Linked DNA regions of Homo sapiens: all the other regions are linked to region 2. The links are contacts of gene promoters, found by promoter capture Hi-C in blood cells and fetal thymus (Javierre and others, 2016). All regions are on one chromosome and are shown on one strand. The core of a region is centred on a gene start or on the middle of the fragment in contact, and the rest is flanking DNA. Distances in the headings are between cores, read along the strand shown.

Region 1 (3,138 bases), core at 437-2,936, 260 kb after region 2:
GCTGGGATTATGGGCAGAAGCCAGCATACGCAACCTAAATTATTTTCTTTTACTTAATCTAATTTGAGCTACATAACTATATTTTAGAATAGGTAATAGCACATATTTTATCATCTTGCTGATGAAGTTTTGGAAGCTGAAGTTTAGAGAAATGAGTTAACTTGCCAAAGCCACACAGGTAATAAGTAACTAGGTCAGTATTCAAATTTAGTGTTTGTTTTACTACACCATACTGTTGCAAAAAGAGCAAGATAAACCACTTCCTTTACTTTTCCAATGTCCACAGTGTTTCCTGTGAGCAACTTGGATCTTTTCTATCCTCCACCCCCATCACCTCACACCATGGCAAGAGATTCTTACTGAACCCTTCCCGGAGCCGGCTTCAGATAGGGGGTCCTAGAAAACAGCTAAGCATGCTGTCAGCCACACTGTCTATTAGTGCTTAGAAATAAACTAACAGTCTAACTGCTTAGAACTATTATTTGTAATATGATGTTAGTTAACCTGAAAGCTTCAAGACTCAGAGAAAGCCAACAGGATTATCCTAAACGTAGTCGCTCTTTAATCCCAGTTAAATAATTCCCTAAGTAGCAATACAAGTTTTTGTATGATTAGTACAGAGAATGAGAAACAACCAGGGTAGGAAGTCAGTAGATACTTGCTATATTACCAATATGATCTCTCTGGCCCTTGGTAATATACATGTGCTTGGCATTGCTGAATGTCATAGGCCTAAATCCCAAGGCCCATTAGAGAATACTTCAAAAGGATAAGGCATAGCAGAAAATGAATTCATCGGTTATTTAGGCTTTTCTTAGCTTAGACAACCTTCAAGTACCAGAAAGTGTCAGGTGAAGGAAGTTTAGAGTCTGTCCCAGAGTCCTTTTTCTGCTTACGCCTCGTGTTTCTGGGCACAGTTGTATCTCAGTAGACCTGGAGCATAGTCTTCTGATGGAGGCGAGTGCTGGCTGCTTTTCAGCCTGTGAGGCCAGCTGCTATTGCTGTATTACGGGAGATAGCGTGATTGAGAGAATTCCTTATGCACAAGATCCTTCCTTTTCTCAGCTGTTGTCATAGGCTTGAGCTGAGTTTATCTGTTTTTCTTCCTGAAGGGTCTAGAAACTCCAGCAGAGCTGGTATAGTGTTCTAAATGATCACTTGGAAGACCAGAGGGCAAAGCCTCTACCATGTAGCTGCTTCTAGCCAAGTTGAATTCCAGAGTAGCTACATACAGCTGTGTGGGAGGCCATGCTCTGCAAATGGATATAGTTAGCTCAAGAATTCTAAGCTGCTCTCTATTGTCAGTAATGTGTGGAATGAAGTATCCTCACAATTCATGTATATTTCTATGCCTGGTGTTGTTTGTTTGACACAAGTTTCCTTTCATAGGCATCCTGAGATGTACTAAAGACATATATTTTCAAGTTGGAATGACAGTGGCATACATTTAAAAGAGGATTTATTTGAGGCTAGGTTGATTGTATACCACCTAGTTTTTATAATTATGTATGTGTCTTCCTCCTCTCCCCACTAGAATGTAAGCCTCTTGATTATCAGAGCTGTGTTTTACACTCAATACCTTCCATAAAACCTGACAGCCCCTGGTAAGACATAAGCATTCAGTAAGTGTTTTTGAATGAAAAACTGAGTCATCACTACTTAACTATGGAATCTTATATCAGACTCTTGTTTTTTTTTTTTTTTGGGAGACAGATTTTGCCGCCCAGGCTGGAGTGCAGTGGTGCGACCTCAGCTCACGGCAACTTCCGCCTCCTGGGTTCAAGTGATTCTCTTGCCTCAGCCTCCTGGGTGGCTGGGACTACAGGTGCGTGCCACCACACCCAGCTAATTTTTGTATTTTTAGTGGAGACGGGGTCTCGTCATGTTGGCCAGGCTGGTCTTGAACTCCTGGCCTCAAGTGATCTGCCCGCCTCGGCTTCCCAAAGTGCTGGGATTACAGACGTGAGCCACCGTGCCCTGCCAGACTCTTGTATTATATTATTAACATGATCTAAATTATTTATTCATCAAACCACTTGGTTTTATATACTTTTTTTTTTTTTTTTTTTTTAGTGTAGAGACAAGATTTTCATCATGTTGCCCAGGCTGGTCTTGAACTCCTAGGTTCAAGCAATCCGCCTGGCTCTGCCTCCCAAAATGCTGGGATCATAGGCGTGAGCCATCACGCCCAGCCATGGTTTTATGTAGTTTTGTTATATGAGTTATTGTGAAGGTGACCAAGTCAAATGACTTTTAGGTGTAAAAGGGTGTTTTGATCTACTGTAGAGTTTGCTTCCTATTCCTTAAGTAAAATAAGTTTGATCCAGGCCAGTGTTTTTGGATTAAACTTCTCAGAGCATCCCAAAGAGCAGTTTGATAAAACCCTGAGTCTAAATTATAGAAGGATTAAAAGTTGAAACTTGCTGTTTTCTTGAGCTGTTGTGGAAGGTGAAACCTGGCCTGGCTTCATGTGTTGGCAAATATTTCCTCTGATCTGCCCTTCCACCGATGGATGCAAATAACTTAAATTTTTTGAGCACCAGATTCATTCAATATATTTTTTTAACAACATACTTAAAGCCTAGTTTACCCTATTCCCCTGTTGTACCACCTGCTAGCAGACATACTAAGATCGTTTATTTAACTGAAGGAAAATTAATTTACAGTGAAAAAACTGCAGCGTTAGTGAAGGCATAGAGATCTCTTGTGGACAATATTTTTGAGTCTTTATTGATTAGACTTCATTGTGACTTAATTAATTGTAATACTGCATGAGCATTTTATTACTGGGAACGCAAAACCCAGGCTTACATAATGCTTCTGATGGAGAATGTAACCTGCAGCTACTGCCAAAAAGCTTCTACTTAGAGGCAAACAACTCTGCCCTGATAGGCTTACTCATCAAGAACCACACAGCATCTTGCTTGGCTAAAAGCACTTTGTTTAGAACCAATGGGGCAAGGGATTAAATTGGCTCACCCACCAAGTCTCCATATACCGAGGGGCTCAGAGTCCTCAAAGCAGTTTTCTCATACCTTTTGAGACACACTGCACCGCCAGAGAGAAAAATCTATGTAGTGCTTTCATGTCAGTGAATGTAGAAATCACAGCTGATGTCAGAAAAGAGGTTAAGAACTA
Region 2 (2,774 bases), core at 242-2,741:
AAAAGATTTAGAGTTTCCACTCAGACCTAAGACTCTCCACTTTGTTTCAGAGGGAGTGGGTATGGTTATTCTGAAGAAGAAGGCGGCCCTTATCCTGAATGCCCGGTAGCCTCCGTGGGCTGGTGGGTGGTTCCTCCGGTCCAGCACCTCCATAATTTATGATCAAATGCCCAAGCCAACAAACTAATCCTCCCCTTCTCCCCCACAAGGAGGCAACCTTTATGTCAGAACAATGTGCCCAGAAGAAGCCAAAGACACAAGGCACATCCAAGGCAAAGACAATCTTAATTAAGCACTTTCTCCTTCCACTTTCTCCACACCTTTACCCCCGGCCCAACCCCTTCCCATAATTTCAAGCTGTACAAAATGAGGTCCTAGGGTGGATCCGGGTGGTCTTTCCTTTCTCTACGGGTAAGCTCTACAAAGAGGCGAAAGCTCCGAGTGTTAGTTCTTGTTTGTGTATAAATTCTGAAAAGCAACGCTGGCCTGCGAGCTATGAAAAGCAGAAGCATGAGTCACCACGCAACGGGTCAATCAAACCTGTAGACCAGAAGGCACGGATCTGGCAAACGGACGGTGAGCCAGGAAAAAAACATCCCCCCAAACCTCTCCGCTGACAGGTTTATCTAGCTGGCTGACCTTGGGCAGGTCACCAGCCGCTCCGAGCACATTCATGTCTAAGATGAGATGGGGGCTGGAAAGCCTTCCAAGAAATAATCCCTTCCGAGTGGTGACGGTCTATGCAACTTTTGAATAAACACATCCTAAGAGGCAACGGAGAAGTTTCTAAAGAGTTGAAATTTTTCAACAAAAGGAGGAGGGAAAAGTGCTCGGTAAAAACACAACGGAGTAACTGGTTTTGGCCTCCGACCAGACGCGAGGGGAGAGAAGAGTGAGAAGTTAGACCCCTGTGATAAAGGGAAAAGGCAGCAGCGGAGACCCGGGCAGGAGCTGCAGCGCCCAGCCGGGGCGAGCTGGGGTGCGCAAGGCCTACCGCGGGTGGGCCCGGCAGGGCAGGGCAGGGCAGGGCGGGGCGGGGCGCCCGCCGCGCTACCCTCCTGGGAAAGGCCGTGGAGGCGCCGGCCGGCGGCTGAGGAGAAACGCCAGCTTTCGGTATGGAATATCGGGAAAGGGCTCTCAGAGCGAAAACTAGCTGCGCCGGCTGCTGGGAAGCCGACGCTGGGCCCGCAGAGAAGGCGCGCGCTCGCGAGGCCCCCCCCAAGTGGATGGGGCGGCGTGGGGGGAGGGGCCGCAAGGGTGGGGGAGGGGAGGTCGCGGGCCTCTCACAATAACACCTCGCAGCCCCTTCCGACCCCCGCCTCTAAGCCACCGGTTCCCTGCGACCCTGGATGCACTCACTGAAGTAGAGGGTCCGTGCGGGCCCCAAGCGGCTGAGGCGTCGGCGGGTGGCGCGTCGGTCGCTCGCTCGGTCCCGTCGGTCCCGCTCCGGCGCGTCCCTCCTCCGGCCCCAGCACCAGCAGCAGCTCCTCCACTTCCGGTTCCCCTGCCACTCAGCCAAATGGCTTCCGGAAGTCCCGCCCCCATCCTGCCACGCCTCAGCGTGGTTCCTCTCTCCCCGCCTTCGCTCTCCCGGGCGCTGGCGGCGTGCGCCCAGGTGTCCCGCCACACCCCGTTGGGTACCCTGCTTTGTTCTCGCGGTTACCCCCATTTTGTGTGGCGTCTGAGGGACATGGGCTTCTCTCTTTACTCCAGCTGCATCTCTCAATCCTGCGTTCGTGCCACCGCAGTGTGGAGCTGGCATTCGGGACGATGTGGCGTGAAGTCACACTGACGCCATTCCCTTCACACTCAGCCAACTTGGCTTCCTCTTCCACCCATGGAATAAACCAGACTGCTGAAAGTGGGAGGGAAATAGCGGACCAAGGTTAAGGAGGCAGTACCTGACATTTATTAGTGGAATTTCTGTTTCTATGATGAATGTGGAGATTTTGGGTGACCGCCTGTAAAGGTGATACATAGGGGGATGACGAACCCCAGGCTTTTCCTTAAAAGATACATCCAGTTTAGGGGAAGACATACATATACAAAGTCAATATTGAAAAGATTATATGCTAAATAAATGCAGGATCTATAAAAGTAGAGAGGAGGGGCAAGAGATGTGCTCAAGCTTATAGCAGCGCAACGGTTGCTGGAGCAGTGCCCTGAACTGGCCCTTTAAGGATCTCAGCTCTATGCTGGTGAATAGGCAGAGCCTTCCAGGGCTCTTAAACTGATGCGGGGGTGGGGGTTGATTTTGCTGACAAAACCTGTTAAGAATACTGTAAAATCCTGGGAGCCTAAAATGTCAAGATATGTCAAGTAATTTTTCTTTTTTTTTTTTTTTTTTATTCAAGTTCTAGGGTACATGTGCACAACGTGCAGGTTTGTTACATAGGTATACGTGTGCCATGTTGGTTTGCTGCACCCATCAACTCGTCATTTACATTCCGTATTTCTCCTAATGCTATCCCTCCCCCAGCCCCGCAGTCCCCGACAGGCCCCCGTGTGTGATGTTCCCCGCCCTTTGTCCAAGTGTTCTCAGTGTTCAATTCCCACCTATGAGAACATGCGGTGTTTGGTTTTCTGTCCTTGTGATAGTTTGCTGAGAATGATGGTTTCCAGTTTCGTCCATGTCCCTGCAAAGGATATGAACTCATCCTTTTTACAGCTGCATAGTATTTCGTGGTGTATATGTGCCACATTTTCTTAATCCAGTCTATCATTGATGGACATTTGGGTTGGTTCCAAGTCTTTGCTATTGTGAATAGTGCCAC
Region 3 (3,108 bases), core at 321-2,820, 290 kb after region 2:
TGGGTTGGGTCCTGGTGGATGAAGAAGGTTTGCCATTTGGATCTAGAGGAGAAGCAAGAGAAAAGAACAATGGGTGAGACTGTCTCAAGGAATTTTCCAAGGACAGCAGCAGGCTTGGCTGGTTTGAAGTACAGTGTACATGAAGGCATTAGTAGAAGCTAAGGACAGAGGTTTTCTAAAATGCATCGTCTAGATTCAGCTGTACTGTGAAAAAAACTCAAGTTTTTTTTTTTTTTTTTTTTTTTTTTGGCAGAGTCTCACACTGTCACCCATGCTGGAGTGCAGTGGCACGATCTCGGCTCACTGCAACCTACCCCTCCTGGGTTCAAGCGATTCTCCTGCCTCAGCCTCCTAAGTAGCTAGGATTACAGGTGTGCACTACCGCACCCGGCTAATTTTTTTTTGTAGAGACGGGGTTTCACCATGTTGGCCAGGCTGGTCTTGAACTCCTGACTTCAAGTGATCCAACCACCTCGGCCTCACAAAGTGCTGGGATTACAGGCATGAGCCACCATGCCTGGCTTTCAGGTTTCTTTTAAAAACTCCAGAGCTTACATTTTTACTTTACTGAAAAAATCATCAGATAATTTGCTGTTCACTTCTGTCACGAAAGGCTTATAATGCTGTGCCCCCACCACTCTGCAGGCAAGTGGGGGAGCTCACTCTTCTCAACCTTTTTGCCAGGAAGGAATGCCTGCTGTTTCTTTTAATGGTCCCTCCATCTCAACTGTGTTGCACAAGACTCTACTGTAGGTGCTGTGAGAATGCAGAGATGAAAGGATAACCTGTCCTCAGGGAGCTTCTACTCTACTAGGGGATGTAAAACAAGCTCATAAACAGCTTTGCTATGAAGTGCTAGGTACTGAGTGCTGCAAGAAGTATCACTGAGAAGAGCAGAGCTAGTGTGATCTTCTTAGCATTTCTTAAGGGTAGATGAACAGGGATTGTTGGTGTTATTTAGTTACTTTTTGAGTCAGGGTCTTGCTCTGTCACCTAGGCTAGAGTGCAGTGGTGCAACCACGGTTCACTGCAGCCTCGACCTCCTGGGCTCAAGCAGTCCTCCCACCTCAACCTCCTGAGCAGCTGGGACTACAGGCGCGTGCCACTACACCCAGCTAATTTTTTTTTTCCTTTGGTATAGATGGGGTCTTGCTATGTCGCCGGGGCTGATCTTGAACTCCTGGGCTCAAACAATCCTCCCTTCTTGGCCTCCCAAAATGCTGGTATTACAGGCATGAGCCACCACACCCAGCCATATTGGTATTAGTAAAGGAAAATTAGATGCCATCATATCAGTGTCCATGGTTACCTATTTCCTTGATGGCGATTTGCCACCAGCCAGTATGAGGCCAGGCACTGTGAGAGCACTAAGCAGGCAGCATGCCAAAGGTTTCTTCCCAATTTGTAGAAGTGTCAGGATTTCACATGCCCCATGCTGTCCGTAATCTCCCTGCCTGCCACCCTAGAAGGAAAAACAAGGTTTGTCTTTCTTCTATAGTGGTACACACACTTGATCTTTTTGACTTTGCAAATAAACACAGCAGCATAACCAATCTACACCATGAGATTACCAACTGGAACTCACAAAGAAAACCACATCCTCTTCTCTGAGCTCAGTCAGCCTCAGCTTTATTACTCAGGCCTCATAGAGCAGTAAAATGCTGACAGAGTGGGAGGGGTTACCCCAGAACCTTTAAGGGGAGTATGCAGTCACGTTATTGCTCCCATTTTCTCTCAAAACCCAGTAAGTGAGTCAGGACGAGTCAACATTGACAGATTCAATAGAGAATTGTGCAGGTTGCCCCAAAGTTCCCCGGGAAGGTGGGTGGCGTGCATTGTGTCCATTTGTGCACTTTTCCCCTTGTGTGATCGGACGATCATCCCACCTCTGCACTCTCTTAGCTTTAGTTTGATAAATATTCGAGCATGTAGCTCTTGGGAACCATCTTTCCTCCATGACTTTGGTAGCTGCTGAATTGGCATAAAGGGTTGCCAAAGATTTGATCCTGAATGTCATGTTCCTTGGGCAGTGGGTTAGTCTGTTTGTACCCCCCAAAATGGTCGATAGGGTCTTATTTATAGAGTGTCACAAAGGACTTCTAGACTCAGGGTCAGCATTCTTACCAAAAATCAGACTTGACTTATTTGGTCTTTTACAGTTGATTAAAGACTCTTTCACATGTGTTGTCTTTTCGAGCCCCCAAACAACCGTCATTTTTCAGATCAGGAACCTTGAGGAGAAGCTGAAAGATTTGCCAACACTTTGCTGGTGAGGGAGCTGGGTCCTGACTTCAAGTTTTCTGATCCCCTGGTCATGTATTTTTTCCTTTACGCCTCCTTGCCCACTCTGCACCCTCCAAGCACAGCTGCCAAGTGAAAGATGCTAGCCCTTCCAGGTCTTTGACCTACTGATGATACTGAAACTTGAGCAGACAGAGCCCTGGGGTATCCCCTGACTCCTATTAATACTCTTTTTCATCTGGCTTTTAACTGACATTTGTCTGTCCTGAATCAGAGGCTTCTCCTGGAAATTAAAGTTTCCCTGAGTCATTTGTTCATTTACATATGGGTATATTGTCCCTCATAATTCTGCAAGCAGGGTTCTGTGATTAAATCAATTTCCTTGTTTGTTTTTGTCAGCTGACTCAGCACGTCCTTATGCACTCAGAAATAACATCTCTAAACTGAATATAAATCATGCTAGACTTTATTGAGCCTTTACAGTGTAGTAACCTCTATGAAGCACTCCACACCCATGGAGTCAGTCCAGTTGTACAGATAACTAAGACCCAGCAAAGCAAGATAACTTGCCCGAGCTCCTGCTCCTCAGGAAGCAGCTAAGCCAGGATTCACGGCCAACTCTTCCTGACCCCAGAACTTGTGCTCATGACCCTTGTGCTCAACTCCAGCTTGGCTGAGGGATGAGCTCTGGGCTGGGAGTCAGGAAGGCCCCCTACATGATTTGTCAGGTGGTTGCTTGCTCTGTCTTGGTGCCTACAGGCATCAGACCTGAAGGCGGGGAAGACAGCAGACAAGGCAGAGCCCAAAGGAGGGTGGGTGTTTTGGTTTGCAGAGGCCCCATTCTCAGGGATAAAAACAAGTCTGAGA
Region 4 (2,897 bases), core at 234-2,733, 420 kb after region 2:
GGGAAACAGGGGAGCAAGGCTGGTTCTTTCCTTTCCCTGACCCGGCGGGGTCCCTTTGCCCTTGGGAGTGTGGACGGAAGGGCAGGGAGCTGGACAGGGAGGATGAGGTCCAGCGCCCTGGGTGAGGGCCCTGGTCGGGGAGACGGTGCCCGGTGGCTTGGCCTCCCTAGCAAGGACTCTGCCCCTTGTTCCTCAGCCTGTCAGGGAGAAGAGGAAGGGCTCTCTCTGGTGCTGTGTCGAGCAGCAGCCTCCCACACGGAGTGGGGAGGGGAAAGTTGAAACGCACCTTGACTCCTGACCATCTCCTCCCCACCCTCACCCCCACCCCCACCACGGCAGACATTGTTGGAAGGCATATTAATGGAGGGGTTAGGCAGTTTGGAGACAGACTGCCTAGGTTCATGTCCTTCTCTATCTCATTCTTGGACATATCACTTAGGGTCTCTGAACCCTGATTTCTCCATTTATAAAATGTGGCTAATAATGTTACTTACCTGTCACATGGTAAATGCTCAATTGAAAAGGCTAACATGAGAATGCCATTTTCTGTTATGTACATGATGCTTCATACAATCACACTGGCGCACATATGCGATTATGTGTGGGCTTTCTGTGCGCTCTGCCCTTCCCCAGCTTTGCTGTCTGTCCTTGTTGCTTCCAGAAGGTTGAGAGGGAGGTGAGGGGTCTGCTCCTGACAATGCTGACTACTGAGGGGCTGAGTGCTGCCCAGGAAAGTAGGTAGCAGAGGAGAGAGGACTTGGCCTAAGCGAGGGAGCCAGGGCCTTACAGAGGAAAGGAAAAGGGGGCAGGGGGAAGGAGGACAGGGAGGGTGGCTGGGTATGGCAGGAGTCAGGGCATCTCAGAGGCATGAAGGAGCTGGGGGTGCTGCCTTCCTACTCGGGCTCACCCGTCCAGCCCCCACACTGCCCTCCACACCAGACACCCAGCAGTGCTGCTAAGGCCACTGGCCAGGGGGTGTGGGCCACCTGCACCTACTGCTTGCCTTTGGGGGAGATTTTTTTTGGGGGGATTCTTGGCTCTCTTGGGTTATGCTCCTCCTTCTGGTGTACCCTAGGCAGGGAAGAGTTTGGGGAGAATGGGAGGCTGCTGTGAGGGTTATAGGTGGGTTACTTCACGGACTCCGTGAGTCTGGGGCTCCTTCTGTGAAGTCTCAGTGACAGGACACGAACCCAAGAACTGTTGGCATGTGGCATCCTTGCCTCAGGAGCTCTTCAGCAAGTGCTGGAGTTCACATGGCCAGCCTGAGGGAGGGGTCTTCTGTGTTCTCTCTGCACCCCTTCCCCTCCCTGCAGCCCAGTGTCCTCAGGGCAGGGGTGGGTGGCAGTGGGGAGGAGGGAGGGGAGATGGTCTGTGATCTCTGGTTGCAGTGAATTTGGGACTAAACATCATTAATGCTGACAGATGCCAGCCATACTAACTTGTAGAATAACAGGACAATCTAGGGGAAAAAAAAATCACTAAAAATATTGACTAAAGGCTTCAGATTTGTGCCTCCTCCCTGCACACCCCAATATGAGATAAATCTCTCTGCATTTATGGACTCCAAGTGTGTCTCAGCATCCCTGAAGTGCCTGCGGGGCGGGTGGCTTGCTCTCCTTGGGTCTGGTTCCCTCTCCTCAATATCCCTGTGAAGTGGGGGCAGGTGGAGGAACATGGAGAAAGAAAGGACAATGGTGTGTGCAGGGCCCTATTGTGGGGAGGGGGCCGGGGTCACCCGCACCACCCCAGGGATGGTGAAAAGAAAGGGTTGGGTTTATGAGCTTCTCTTCTCTCTTTTTCTTTTCAATTACAATGATACCTCAGGTAATTAACTGCTAATAACCTTGTTAATTTAAAATGGATGCTCTCCCTTCTGGCTCTCTCAAGGAAGGCTAAAGCCACCAGGGGTCAGCAGGTTTGGGGGAGCAGGAGAGGGTGGGCAGGAGAGGAGAGGATGCTGGGTGGGAGGCCCTTGTGGTGGGCAGGCAGGGCTGTGGCTGGCTGTGTGGCATGCTCTAAGGGGCCCGGCTGCTGTGGAAGTCCAGAGGTACTGGGATCCCTTCAGCCCCTCCATATTCCTGCACAACAACTGGATGGGTCACCTGGGCCCCCGACCTGGGGAAGAGAGCCTGTGGCTCTCTCCAGCACCGCAAGCCTTTGCCATGGAGCAGCAGCAGCTGCTCAGCCCGAGGCACCTCCCTGTTAGGAACTACCCGGGGCCTTTGGGCTCACGATCCTAGAAACTCACCCTGCTGAGGGTCACGTCTCCCATCCCCACTGCTTCTCAATCGCAGGGATTGGAGATACAGTCAGGAAGGGAATAAATGTCTCATTCTGAACAGTTTAGACATTTGTCAAGAGTCAGGCATCTAGACGAGGTATCTGTGATCTTTTTAGTTCAAATATGTATTCGTTAGACAGACTTTTAAAGTCTAGCCCAGGTCTTAGTGATACAAAGCTGAAGAAAGATAATGGTTCCTGCCTTCAAGGAGCTCATTGTCTCAGTGAAGTAAACAAATAATTACAACACAAACTGTGCAGAGCGTAGGGGAAAAAAAATACCTAATCTTGTAGGGTGTGGGCAGTCAGGGCAGGTTTTCCAGAGGAGGGGTATTTAAACTGGGCACTGATGAAACAGGAGGAGCTCCCTAGGCTGCTAAGATGGAGTGTAGGAAGGCCTGAAGGCAGGAGGGATGGCAGGAAGCATGAGAGGCTGTGGCTGCTGGGGAATGGGCAGTGCCTTGATAGGGATGAAACACAGGGAGAATGAGGAGGCAGCTGGAAAGAGAAGCGGGAGCCAGGTCATGAAGGGTTGATAGGATTTCTTCTAAGAGGTGACCTCCCTTGCCCATGGGATCTTAGCCCAGGCAACTGGGGGGCCACTCCCTATGGCCTGG

Evidence for each region. The method cuts DNA at HindIII sites, captures the fragments that hold promoters and counts their contacts. A CHiCAGO score of 5 or more calls a contact.
Region 1: a fragment that was not itself captured here is called in contact with the fragment with the promoter of PAFAH1B2 in region 2 in 16 of 17 cell types (total B cells, total CD8 T cells, naive B cells and 13 more); the score reaches 15.1 in total B cells.
Region 3: a contact is called between a fragment that was not itself captured here and the fragment with the promoter of PAFAH1B2 in region 2, in 17 of 17 cell types (total CD8 T cells, naive CD8 T cells, naive CD4 T cells and 14 more). The highest score is 23.1, in total CD8 T cells.
Region 4: a contact is called between a fragment that was not itself captured here and the fragment with the promoter of PAFAH1B2 in region 2, in 1 of 17 cell types (erythroblasts). The highest score is 5.1, in erythroblasts.

Annotation. Positions count from the first base shown.
Region 1 is chr11:116,886,179-116,889,316 of GRCh38, reverse strand. The region is part of intron 6 of SIK3 (SIK family kinase 3); the gene reads left to right. Among named protein-coding and RNA genes, the nearest start is that of APOA1, 50 kb to the right of the region's middle. The HindIII fragment of the contact is 2,346 bases long and covers 514-2,859 here.
Region 2 is chr11:117,143,004-117,145,777 of GRCh38, reverse strand. It overlaps PAFAH1B2 (platelet activating factor acetylhydrolase 1b catalytic subunit 2), which reads right to left and starts at 1,491. Exons shown (of 6, transcript NM_002572.4): 1 at 1,360-1,491. RefSeq lists an enhancer at 232-411 and a silencer at 962-1,281. The HindIII fragment of the contact is 2,379 bases long and covers 1-2,130 here.
Region 3 is chr11:116,852,224-116,855,331 of GRCh38, reverse strand. All of the region lies in intron 21 of SIK3 (SIK family kinase 3), which reads left to right. It also overlaps APOA1-AS. Among named protein-coding and RNA genes, the nearest start is that of APOA1, 16 kb to the right of the region's middle. RefSeq lists a silencer at 2,304-2,373. The HindIII fragment of the contact is 5,012 bases long and covers 1-3,108 here.
Region 4 is chr11:116,722,897-116,725,793 of GRCh38, reverse strand. No RefSeq gene overlaps it. Among named protein-coding and RNA genes, the nearest start is that of BUD13, 49 kb to the left of the region's middle. The HindIII fragment of the contact is 6,964 bases long and covers 1-2,897 here.